Linked DNA regions of Homo sapiens: all the other regions are linked to region 2. The links are contacts of gene promoters, found by promoter capture Hi-C in blood cells and fetal thymus (Javierre and others, 2016). All regions are on one chromosome and are shown on one strand. The core of a region is centred on a gene start or on the middle of the fragment in contact, and the rest is flanking DNA. Distances in the headings are between cores, read along the strand shown.

What was found. The method cuts DNA at HindIII sites, captures the fragments that hold promoters and counts their contacts. A CHiCAGO score of 5 or more calls a contact.
Region 1: a contact is called between a fragment that was not itself captured here and the fragment with the promoter of SRY in region 2, in 6 of 17 cell types (activated CD4 T cells, total CD8 T cells, M1 macrophages and 3 more). The highest score is 9.0, in activated CD4 T cells.
Region 3: a contact is called between a fragment that was not itself captured here and the fragment with the promoter of SRY in region 2, in 10 of 17 cell types (M1 macrophages, total CD8 T cells, naive CD4 T cells and 7 more). The highest score is 11.9, in M1 macrophages.

Annotation. Positions count from the first base shown.
Region 1 is chrY:2,975,912-2,980,034 of GRCh38, forward strand. It overlaps ZFY (zinc finger protein Y-linked), which reads left to right. Exons shown (of 8, transcript NM_003411.4): 6 at 759-911; 7 at 2,029-2,169; 8 at 2,899-4,123. The coding sequence ends at 4,082. The region is part of intron 2 of ZFY-AS1 (ZFY antisense RNA 1); the gene reads right to left. Among named protein-coding and RNA genes, the nearest start is that of ZFY-AS1, 25 kb to the right of the region's middle. The HindIII fragment of the contact is 276 bases long and covers 2,552-2,827 here.
Region 2 is chrY:2,784,977-2,788,998 of GRCh38, forward strand. It overlaps SRY (sex determining region Y), which reads right to left and starts at 2,706. Exons shown (of 1, transcript NM_003140.3): 1 at 1,879-2,706. The coding sequence starts at 2,627. The coding sequence ends at 2,013. RefSeq lists promoters at 2,628-4,022, 2,724-4,022, 2,724-3,037. The HindIII fragment of the contact is 2,145 bases long and covers 888-3,032 here.
Region 3 is chrY:2,949,231-2,953,494 of GRCh38, forward strand. The region is part of intron 1 of ZFY (zinc finger protein Y-linked); the gene reads left to right. Among named protein-coding and RNA genes, the nearest start is that of ZFY, 16 kb to the left of the region's middle. The HindIII fragment of the contact is 878 bases long and covers 1,339-2,216 here.

The DNA of each region.
Region 1 (4,123 bases), core at 1,440-3,939, 190 kb after region 2:
TTACGAGTGAGAACATGTGACGTTTGGTTTTCTGTTCTTGTGTTAGTTTGCTGAGGATGATGGTTTCCAGCTTCATCCATGTCCCTGCAAAGGACATGAGCTTATTCTTTTTTATGGCTGCATAGTATTCCATGATGTATATGTGCCAGTATGTGGCTTTTTTTGTGGGAGAGGGTTTTATGTTTCTACAAGGTGTGTTTTTTTTTTTTTTTTGAGACAGAGTCTTATTCTGTTGCCAGGCTGGATGGAGTGCAGTGGAGCAATCTCCGCTCACTGCAGCTTCCACCTCCTGGGTTCAAGCAGTTCTCCTGCCTCAGCCTCCCAAGTAGCTGAGACTACAGGCACGTGCCACCACACCCAGCTAATTTTTGTATTTTTAGTAGAGATGAGGGTTTCACCATGTTGGCCAGGATGGTCTCGATCTCTTGACCTCGTGATCCGCCCACCTTGGTCTCCCAAAGTGCTGGGATTACAGGCGTGAGCCACTGTGCCCTGCCCAAGCTGTCGTCTTTTTTTTTAATGTAACCAATATTTGAAAAAAAATAAGCAGCGCTGTTGTAGAGATTACTGTGTTGCCGTATTCCAAGAATAGATATCAGTGACTATGTATGTTTTGATAGTTGCTTTATAAACTAATTATGGTGAAAGCCAAGAAACGAATAATTCAACCAATGTTTATTTTTTCCTACTAATGAATTTTTTCTGTGTGATCTCTGTAAACCTAGTCACAAAAAATTTTTTATTTATTTTGTGCTTAGATGTTGCTGAAATTGCTGATGAAGTTTATATGGAAGTGATCGTAGGAGAGGAGGATGCTGCTGTTGCAGCAGCAGCAGCTGCTGTGCATGAGCAGCAAATTGATGAGGATGAAATGAAAACCTTCGTACCAATTGCATGGGCAGCAGCTTATGGTAACTTACATAGAAGCCAGAAGGATTGAGTAGTTTTTGAACATTAATTCACTGTTGAAAGTGGTTTCTGTTGGCCAGGCGTGGTGGCTCATGTCTGTAATCCCAGCACTTTGGGAGGCTGAGGCAGGCGGATCACGAGGTCAGGAGATTGAGACCATCCTGGCTAACATGGTGAAACCCTGTCTCTACTAAAAAATATTTTTAAAAAATTAGCCAGACGTGGTGGCAGGCACCTGTAATCCCAGCTACTGAGGAGGCTGAGGCAGGAGAATGGCGTGAACCTGGGAGGTGGAGCTTGCAGTGAGCTGAGATTGCGCCACTGCACTCCAGCCTGGGCAGCAGAGCAAGACTCCATCTCAAAAAAAAAAAAAAAAAAAAAAAAAAAAAAAAAAAAAAGGGTTTTTTTTAGGGTTTCATGATTTAAGCAAAAGTAGAGGAGGATTAAATAGTCTCCCTGTTGCCTTTAATTTTAACATGAACTTCTTTTATTATGTAAGAAGTGTGGGAGCTTTCAGTCTAACATTTTAAATCTTGGTTTATAGGTGACACATAACTTTACAATTTTTGGGAGATAGCAGGGAGTCCAGTAGAGCAGCATGCTGCTAGATACGGAAGCTAGGCACTTCCCCTGGTCTTGCCATATATATGCCCATAAAACACATGGTCTACAATTGGGGGCCAGGTGTGGCTCTTGCCTGTAATCCCAGCACTTTGGGAGTCTGAGGCAGGTGGATGACCTGAGGTCAGGAGTTCAAGATCAGCCTGGCCAATATGGTGAAACCTCCTCTCTACTAAAAATACAAAAAAATGAGATGGGTGTGATGGCGTTGTTCCTGTAATCCCAGCTATTCAGGATGCTGAGGCAGGATAATCACTTGAACCTGAGAGGAGGAGGTTGCAGTGAGCCAAGATTACACCTCTGTACTCCAGCCTGGGTGACAGAGCAAGACTCTGTCTCAAAAAAAAAAAAAAAAAAAAAAAAAAAAGAATAAAAATAAATAAAGTAAGGACTTTCTGTCATTCATGAGTGTCAGGACTTCTTGTTGTTAATAAAGAATTCGTAATTCTTTAGAATTTATAATGTTGTGTAATTCTGTGTTTTAATGCACATTGTTAGGTAATAATTCTGATGGAATTGAAAACCGGAATGGCACTGCAAGTGCCCTCTTGCACATAGATGAGTCTGCTGGCCTTGGCAGACTGGCTAAACAGAAACCAAAGAAAAAGAGAAGACCTGATTCCAGGCAGTACCAAACAGGTGAGTTCCACAGGGGTGTTATGATGGAGTTTTAGCTAGTAGGCCACATGTATTTTTATGTGTTGAATTTGAAAGAAAAAATTTCAAAATTCAGTGATATTCATGAATGGTTTTCTTGGATAAGAAGAAACAGTTGTGCATCAACCATTCAGGAAAAAGAATTAAAATCCTCTGGTGATTTTAGTGAAAAGGAAAATAAATTTCTAAAATGTTACCTAACTTTAAGTGAACGAAATTACATGGATCTACTTATACTAGCATAAAGCAGGTATAATTTACCGAGAAGTGGAAGAAGTACCTAGGTTATTTGTAGGACTGATTACTATCCTATGTTGTTTTGAATGCTGCTTTGCATATTAAAATTTATTTATAGGTGCAGTTAAGCTTTACTGTTTGCATATATTTGGCTTGGAGTCAGTCACCAAAGCAGAAATGCTGGACTTGATTTTTATGAGTTATTTGCTACACATTTCTAAATTCATGTTCTTTTGTCACTGCTTGATTGATTTTTTTTTTTTAACTGGAGGGGGTGAGATTGGTTCATACTTAACCAAACCAGTTCTCTCGATTAGGACATTATTATAACTCTTAACATTGAAAAGCAGTAAAAGGAATGTTAATAATTTAAAAGTATTTGCCCACTAATGTTCAGAACACAAGCTTTAAAAAATTCATGAGGAGACCAGAAGTTTGATTAAGCACTCATACTGCTTTCTTTTCCTTTCTTAGCAATAATTATTGGCCCTGATGGTCATCCTTTGACTGTCTATCCTTGCATGATTTGTGGGAAGAAGTTTAAGTCGAGGGGTTTTTTGAAAAGACACATGAAAAACCATCCTGAACACCTTGCCAAGAAGAAGTACCACTGTACTGACTGTGATTACACTACCAATAAGAAGATAAGTTTACATAACCACCTGGAGAGCCACAAGCTGACCAGCAAGGCAGAGAAGGCCATTGAATGTGATGAGTGTGGGAAGCATTTTTCTCATGCAGGGGCTTTGTTTACTCACAAAATGGTGCATAAGGAAAAAGGGGCCAACAAAATGCACAAGTGTAAATTCTGTGAATATGAGACAGCTGAACAGGGGTTATTGAATCGCCACCTCTTGGCAGTCCACAGCAAGAACTTTCCTCATATTTGTGTGGAGTGTGGTAAAGGTTTCCGACACCCGTCGGAACTGAGAAAGCACATGCGAATCCATACCGGCGAGAAGCCATACCAATGCCAGTACTGTGAATATAGGTCTGCAGACTCTTCTAACTTGAAAACACATATAAAAACAAAGCATAGTAAAGAGATGCCATTCAAGTGTGACATTTGTCTTCTGACTTTCTCAGATACCAAAGAAGTGCAGCAACATACTCTTGTCCACCAAGAAAGCAAAACACATCAGTGTTTGCATTGCGACCACAAGAGTTCAAACTCAAGTGATTTGAAACGACATGTAATTTCAGTTCATACGAAAGACTATCCTCATAAGTGTGAGATGTGCGAGAAAGGCTTTCACAGGCCTTCAGAACTTAAGAAACATGTGGCTGTCCACAAAGGTAAAAAAATGCACCAATGTAGACATTGTGACTTTAAGATTGCAGACCCATTTGTTCTAAGTCGCCATATTCTCTCAGTTCACACAAAGGATCTTCCATTTAGGTGTAAGAGATGTAGAAAGGGATTTAGGCAACAAAATGAGCTTAAAAAGCATATGAAGACACACAGTGGCAGGAAAGTATATCAGTGTGAGTACTGTGAGTATAGCACTACAGATGCCTCAGGCTTTAAACGGCACGTTATTTCCATTCATACAAAAGACTATCCTCATCGGTGTGAGTACTGCAAGAAAGGCTTCCGAAGACCTTCAGAAAAGAACCAGCACATAATGAGACACCATAAAGAAGTTGGTCTGCCCTAACAGTGTGTCTACAAGCTTGTAAAGATGTTGGCCTTGAAGCA
Region 2 (4,022 bases), core at 1,456-3,955:
ATATAGGTAATAAGAATGTATTGTATGCTTGAAAATTGCTAAGAGAATACAATTTAAATGTTCCCAGTGCAAAAGGAAAGGGAAGTATATGAGGTAGTAGATACATTAGCTTGATTTAGTCTTTCCAAAATGTATACATGCATGATGTCATAATTTTTAATAATCTGAAAACCACCAAAATGTATTAAGCAAAAGAAGCTCCACATAATATTTTGTATTTATATTTATTCACATTGTTAAGGAAAAATGGTATTCAGTGATACTTGTTCAAACTTGATAAGGAAGACTATTCACGACCAACAGCACAGCAATGAGGTCTTGCACTGGGGGAGAGATTGGCCTTAGCTCCACATACACAGCTGGGTAGGTGGGGATTTATAGCCAAGGAGCAGGGAGTAGGGTCAATGGATGGACAATCACTAAGAGAAGACATCATAGATAAGGAGGATTCTTGCTGAAGACAGGCTAGGCTGATCAGACATCACCTAGAGGGTGGTGGAGGATGAGAAACCTGATCAGATATTGAGGGTGATCGATCAAGTGTTGAGTGTGATCAGATATGCGGTGGGGGTACAGTCTGGCTAACCTGGCTTAGGAGAGTTCTTTGCCAAAACTGAGTTTGGCAAGGAAGTGCACAGGCGAGTCTAGGAGAAGGTTCAGAAACCTGACTAAAGTTTGGTCAAACAGAGAATCTGTGTCAGAGGTTCAAGAAAAGGAAAATTAATGTATGGTAATGAAGGTCAGAATGGGTGTTATTTTTGGGAGAGTGAAAAGAGTGGTTTTAAATATTACAAAGTAGTTTTGAGTCAGTGTTTAAAAGGTAATGGGCAATATACAGTTCTCATTTGGCATAAAGCTCAGATTAAGTAATATTGTCTCTGGAATAAAGCTTTTTTTAAACCCTGAACTTTGAGAAACATGACATCCATCTCTAATATACACTCTTTTAGTGTTTGAGTTTTATTATTTAAGGTAATGTCTCTGAAAAGTTTTGAAATATTGGAAAGCTGACTTTGATACATACCATTAATTTTGACTTTTGATTTATTTTTATTGTAGAAAAATTTATTTGTAATTTATACTTTAAACTGTGGTTTACAGTTATTTGTAAACTTCTAGTTTCCTGCTTTAGCTTATGTGCAAATTTTATGAAGTCTTGGCATTACATTTTTATTTAAATCCCATCAAATTAAACCAGTTGGGTCACCAGCCCCCGCCCTTCCATCTCCATAATCTGGGTAGTCGGCGTTCTCAACATTCCTGTTGAGAATGAAAATTCTGTATTTTTCATTCCACAGGCTTAAAAGTTAATAGGCCATGGAAACAAGTAGATTGCCATTTTAAAAGATAGTTTTCAGAAGAAAGGCAAAATGATAAGTTTCATAGAGATACAAAAATGACAAGGAATTAAATATTTTGTTTTACCAGAGGCATTTTATAACTAGTTGAAAGGAAATGTCAACCGTTTGGATTTATATGGAGTAAAGGAACTGAATTGCAAGTGGAGGTAAAACTGGTTTTTTCCACAGCGTGAAGGGGAGAGAAAGAAACAAGTTTGATCCTGCTTACATATCCATTCCTTAGTTACCTGCAATTTATAGACACGTACAAAGTAGCTGAAAGACCAATGAATACACGGTCTAGAGAGGACTGCTTAACACGCTGCATATAGAAGTGTGATTTTTTTTGGTACAATTTTCAAGTGTGTTTCTCATTAGAGCATTTAAAGTAAGCCACAGTGTCCGTTTGTATCAAGTTAGTACTCTGACGGCCACAAACATAGGCAGGCTCACTTCTGGATGTCTTATTTCTTTGCATGTTAATCGTGTTGACACAACTTGTCTTGAAATTAAGTTTAAAATGAAATACCAGTAAAACTGAAATGAATAAGGCCTTTATTAGCCAGAGAAAAGAAAACAATATTGAAACTAAACATAAGAAAGTGAGGGCTGTAAGTTATCGTAAAAAGGAGCATCTAGGTAGGTCTTTGTAGCCAATGTTACCCGATTGTCCTACAGCTTTGTCCAGTGGCTGTAGCGGTCCCGTTGCTGCGGTGAGCTGGCTGCGTTGATGGGCGGTAAGTGGCCTAGCTGGTGCTCCATTCTTGAGTGTGTGGCTTTCGTACAGTCATCCCTGTACAACCTGTTGTCCAGTTGCACTTCGCTGCAGAGTACCGAAGCGGGATCTGCGGGAAGCAAACTGCAATTCTTCGGCAGCATCTTCGCCTTCCGACGAGGTCGATACTTATAATTCGGGTATTTCTCTCTGTGCATGGCCTGTAATTTCTGTGCCTCCTGGAAGAATGGCCATTTTTCGGCTTCAGTAAGCATTTTCCACTGGTATCCCAGCTGCTTGCTGATCTCTGAGTTTCGCATTCTGGGATTCTCTAGAGCCATCTTGCGCCTCTGATCGCGAGACCACACGATGAATGCGTTCATGGGTCGCTTCACTCTATCCTGGACGTTGCCTTTACTGTTTTCTCCCGTTTCACACTGATACTTAGAGTTACAGCTTTCAGTGCAAAGGAAGGAAGAGCTTCTCCGGAGAGCGGGAATATTCTCTTGCACAGCTGGACTGTAATCATCGCTGTTGAATACGCTTAACATAGCAGAAGCATATGATTGCATTGTCAAAAACAAGGAGAGTGCGACAAAATTGAAAGGTGCCAGAGTTCGAAACTTATTTTACTATCCAAAACTCACTTCTACCAGATTCTTTGTTACGTTAACTTTTGTAATGAAACTTGCATTTCTCCGCCCTCAACACCCCCTCAACCCCGCCCAACCAGCCTACCCCCTAGTACCCTGACAATGTATTCATTCTCAAGCAAAACATGGTAATTCAGTAACGTTGACTACTTGCCCTGCTGATCTGCCTCCCTGACTGCTCTACTGCTGTCCTGAAAAATGCGAATTTGACTTAATCGCCAATTTTTTCATTGACCTTTTATGTCACAAAACGAGAGGACACAAAAAGCTATATGAATTGTTTATCATTATCAATATATGTGTATGTTATCTTTAAAAAAACAAAGCTTAATGAGAACCTAATTGTCTTAACCACACACATACATACATAACTGCATATTGAATTTATAGTAATTATTATCGCTTTTTCTTCACTTCTATTTAAAAATTGAAAATTCTATACACATTTTTCACAGGCATTAAGTATCAGAATATTAGCATATACTTACAAGTATTTTATGCCCAACTTCTAGGATGGCTAACATTTGACTTTTAGAAAAGTAATTGTTTCGTTTAGAGAAAAAAAAATATGACCTAAGAACTCAAAACAGTTTCAGTGAAGTGTTAAGCTACACTAAAAAGGGGACACAATTCTTTTCTTTGCAGATTGTATAGTGGGATATTTTGAAGTCATTCTCTTCACTGTCACACAATTAGCAATTTAAAAAACAATCTTTTACAAGTCTAAATTAAATTTCCATTCACAACAAATAGAGCCATCAATTTATCATATTTCACCTTTTAGTTCAACCTCCTTCAAAATTTAAAGGTCACAGTTTACCAGACTAAACAAGTGAATAACTCTCCTCAATAAATCTTAAAGTCTGAAGAGAAATGACAAGATTTCTTTGCTGAAATAAAATGGGAGGAAAGTCCCCCCACTCACCAATGTTTTAATGCCATATTTGCAAAACAGGAGTAACAACTACAGGTTGCATAGTACACAGAACCTATTAATAAAAATAAACTCTCAGCAAAACTGAATGATGCCACAATTCCTAAGACAACAAAATAAAAATCCCGTAAAATATGAAAAGAGTTCATAGAACCAAATGTGGTTGGTTTGTCCAGTAAATGTTATAATGAATTAATATCAGAAACTTTAAAAAATTATATTCCATGAAAAGAAAAATATGAAAACTGTAATTTGTATCCTAGTTATCTACTAAAGTTTAGTATCTAAGATACAAAATTTAGTATTCATTATACAAAGTGGAAATATAGTTGGCTCAAGTTAAAACATGTATCTGGATAGCAAATAAAATGGTTAAATTG
Region 3 (4,264 bases), core at 528-3,027, 160 kb after region 2:
GCTCAAGCAGTTCTCCCTCCTCAAACCCCAGATAACTGACTACAGGTACCCACTATCATGATTGGCTAATTTTTGTATTGTTTGTAAAGATGGGGTTTCACCATGTTGGCCAGGCTGGGTTTAAATTCCTGGGTTCAAGCATTCCACCTGCCTTAGCGTCCCAGAGTGCTAGGATTACTGGGGTGAGCCACGGCACCCAACCTGGCCAAAAAATTAAAGTCTGTGATGCTTATTAGTTTTTGGGAAATAGGCACTCTTACATTACTTGTGAAAGCTAATAAATTTTCAAGAGCCTTTATCGAGATTATTTTAGCAATATTGCTGGCTGTGATGGCTTACATTTATAATCCCAGCACTTTGGAGGCAGAGACAGGCAGTTACCTTGAGGCCAGGAGTGAAAGACCAGCTTGGTCAATGTACTGAGACCCTCATGTCTACAAAAAAAAAAAAAAAAAAAAAAAAAAAAAAGATTACCCAGGCATGTTGGTAAGTGCCTGTAGTCTCAGCTACTCTGGAGACTGAGATGAGAGGATCGCTTGAGCGTGGGAGGTCGAGGCGGTAGTGAGTCATGGTCACACCACTGCACTCCATCCTGGGTGACAGAGCAAGACCCTGTCTCAAAAAAAAAGAACACCAAAAAAACCCATATATATACACATACACACACAAACACACACTCATATATATGTTTGTAGAATGGTTTTCTACTTTACATTGCTTTATTTCTCCTTTTTTGGTTTACTAGCTATTAGTTGTTTTCTCATCTTCATACCACTGTAGCTAGGACTGAAGGCATGCACCACCACATCTGGCTAATTTTGCAGTTTTTTATAGAGACATTGTCTTGCTCTGTCACCCAGGCTGGAGTGCAGTGGTGTAATCATAGCTCACTGTCATGGCTACGTGACCTCTCAGGCTCCAATGATCCTTCCTACCTCAGCTTCCCAAGTAGCTGGGACCACAGGTGCACCACGACGTCCAGCTAATTTTTAATTTTTTTTGTAGAGAAGGGATCCAACTATTTGCCTAGACTTGTCTAGAACTCCTGGACTCCAGTGATCCCCCTCCCGTGGTCCCTCAAAATGCTGGGATTACAGGATTAAGCCACCACACCAGGCCTAAATTATTTTTCAGAGTGGATCCTCTGGATCATTCTGCTTATTTGTCTTCCAATTCAGCTGATCTCTAAGCTTGGTTCTTACTACAAAGGCATGGGAAATTACTGTGAAATCATGGGAACTTATTTTTCACCTTATCAAAATTGTGTTAATATTATTACCATTAAGAGCATGGTTTTGTTCTGGTTGTAGGAAGAAATTGGCATTTGTAACCCAAGAAAGCTTACTAACGTAAAGGTGTGGTCATCTTTACAGTGAAGTGCAAAAGAACCTCTTGTGCCTCTGTCAGTTTTCGCCGTGATAAAATAGGACAATAATCAGTCAAATGTGTTGTTGAAGAATGATTGCTCACTATAGTGAAGATTGGATTGGTGGTCAGCCCTTATCATAGGCTCAAGTACATAGTAGGGATATGTATATGACGTAAAATTATACTTAACCCTCTTTCATTCAAGATTTTGAGTTTGTAGGTGTTGTGCTGAATAGAGTCCTAGAATGTAGCAGTTCGTGGTTGGTTTCTCACTTGTTTGAGCTCTTTTCTCTTTATTGCCTGTTTCAGAATGATTAAACCAGAATTTAGCTATCTGTGGCACAGATGTTTGGTTACATACATGAGACACTAGCACTATGTCCCTAGGTCACTGATAGTGACATTTTCCTGCATTTATAAATATTTGTAAATATTAGCAGTTATTGACCCTGCTAATGACAGTTGACTAGGTATAGCTCCACTTTTTCAAGACCTCACCTCCTAGAAAATTCTAGGATGTTGAGTGCCAGGGTAAAAACATAAAGATCGTTTGAAGAATGACATGCTGTCCAGCTAGGTTGCAAAGTTGAGTAATAACAGTAAATAAGTCATGTGGTAGCTTGGGTTAATAATGTGGAGGTCACTGAATATTGGAGACTGCTTCTTGGTAAGGGAGTGATCAAAGCAGTGCTTCAAGAAGATTCATCTGGCTACAGATTGTAGGAATGCCTTGTTAGTTGGCATTACAAGACCCCCTTCTTATAATAGGTTTCCTAGTCATTTGTTTTGGAAGTGTTACAAAGGCCATTTCAGAAACTATTTTCATTTCTAGGGATCAGAAAATAGGAAGCTTAGAGTGATTGGTGATAATGGGAATACAAGCAGGGCAAACATAACAGAGAAATTGTGGAGAAGAAATTGACAAGATCTGAGAAACCAACTGTCAGGGAAGGAGGAAAAGGCCATAGTGATTGTGCCAGGAAAAATCTGGGTTTTAATTTTTGAAGATGTTCAGTAAACGGTCTGATGGAAATTTTAGGTCCTTCTCAGCGTGTGGATTTTGGGGATCATCTTCACGTAAGTCGTCATTAAAAACTGTGGAAATAAATGAGAAAGTAGTAGAGAGGAAAGCTGAATGTGAAACCTTGGACAAGACTATAGTAGCCATCGGTTAAGAAGGTGAGAAGAGAACTAAGATATCATATAAACAAAGAGGTAGGAGGGAGTTTCAAAATTAAAGAAACTGATCATCTATCAGACTCTAACAGACAGGTAAGGAAGATGAATACCTGAAACAGGAAAATTACGCTACAAGTTGATCTTTTTTTTTTTTTTTTTGAGATGGAGTCTCGCTCTGTCGCCCAGGCTGGAGTGCAGTGGCACGATCTCGGCCCACTGCGAGCTCCGTCTCCCGGGTTCACACCATTCTCCTGCCTCAGCCTTCCGAGTAGCTGGGACTACAGATGCCCGTCACAGTGCCCGGCTAATTTTTTGTATTTTTAGTAGAGACAGGGTTTCACTGTCTGTACTGTCAAGACACCAGGTGGTCTTGATCTCCTGACCTTGTGATCCACCTGCCTCAGCTTCCTAAAGTCCTGGGATTACAGGCGTGAGCCACCATGCCTGGCCCACAAGTTGATCTTTTATTAGAACTAATGAAATTGCTGTTTTTAGGAAAATTGGAAGGTCACTTCAATAATCCAACAAATCACATTTATTCCATCATTCATTGCCTTAATTTCATGTGGTTTTCTTTAATTATGCAGAGAAGATTAGTTTGCATTTATAATTTTATAATTACATTTTTTTAAGAGGGGAAAAATTAATGAAGCCAGAGATTGTTTGGGTAGAGGGAGCAGTGACAGCTTATTTAGAGCAGGTGCCCTTTTTCTTTTTCTGTGGTTGACAAAATATTAGTGTAGTCATCATGGCCTTTTTATTTGAAGCAGTTTGAATGTCATAAAACACACTTTCTTTAAATTGAGTAGATCTGTTTCAGAGAAACACTTTGGAAATCCATTGGTTTCTCACTTGCATATTGCCTTATCATATAGTTTAATATTTGAAAATTGACACACATAAGTGACCATAGCATGTGCTAAAAATACAGTAAGGGAGCTGGACATAGTGGCATGTGTCATTAGTCCTAGCTGCTTGGGAGGCTGAAGTAAGAGGATTACTTGAGCCTAGGAGTTGGAGGCTGCAGTGAGCCATGATCATGCCACTGCACTCCAGTCTGGGTGACAGGGTGAGACCCTGTCTCTGAGGGGAGAGAATGGGGAGGGCTTTTAAGCTACACAGAAATCTGAGGAGTGCTTATAATTATTAGGAATTTTGAGTTTTTTACCATTTTGTTAATTTACTGTAGAAAGACTGGAGACTATGTTAAATATAGAGATGTAATACAGTCTTGCAGCAAAAACCTACAGAATGTGTTAAAGTTGAGAGTTAATCATGGGTGCCAGACACAATAACATTCCTGTAATCCCAGTACTTTGTGAGGCTGAGGTGGGAGGATTGCTCAAGCTCAGGACTTTGACACCAGCCTGGGCAACATAGTTAGACCTTGTCTATACAAAAAGATACTTTAAAAATTAGCCAGGTTTGGTGACACATACTTGTAGTCCCAAGTAGTTGGGCTGAGGGGTGAGCATTGCTTGAGCCTGAGAAGTTGAGGCTGCAGTGAACTGTGCCACTTACAGTTTAGCCTGTATGACAGAGCCAGAGGCCCTGTTTACAAAAAAAAAAAAAAAAATCATGGGGGTTACTGATAGAAGGCAAGAGGGAGTCATCTGGTGTGTAAGAAATGTTCTGTTATCTTAATATAAATAATGCAAGTACCAGTTAACACTTACGTACTTAACATAAATAATGCAAATTCCAGTTAACACTTAGG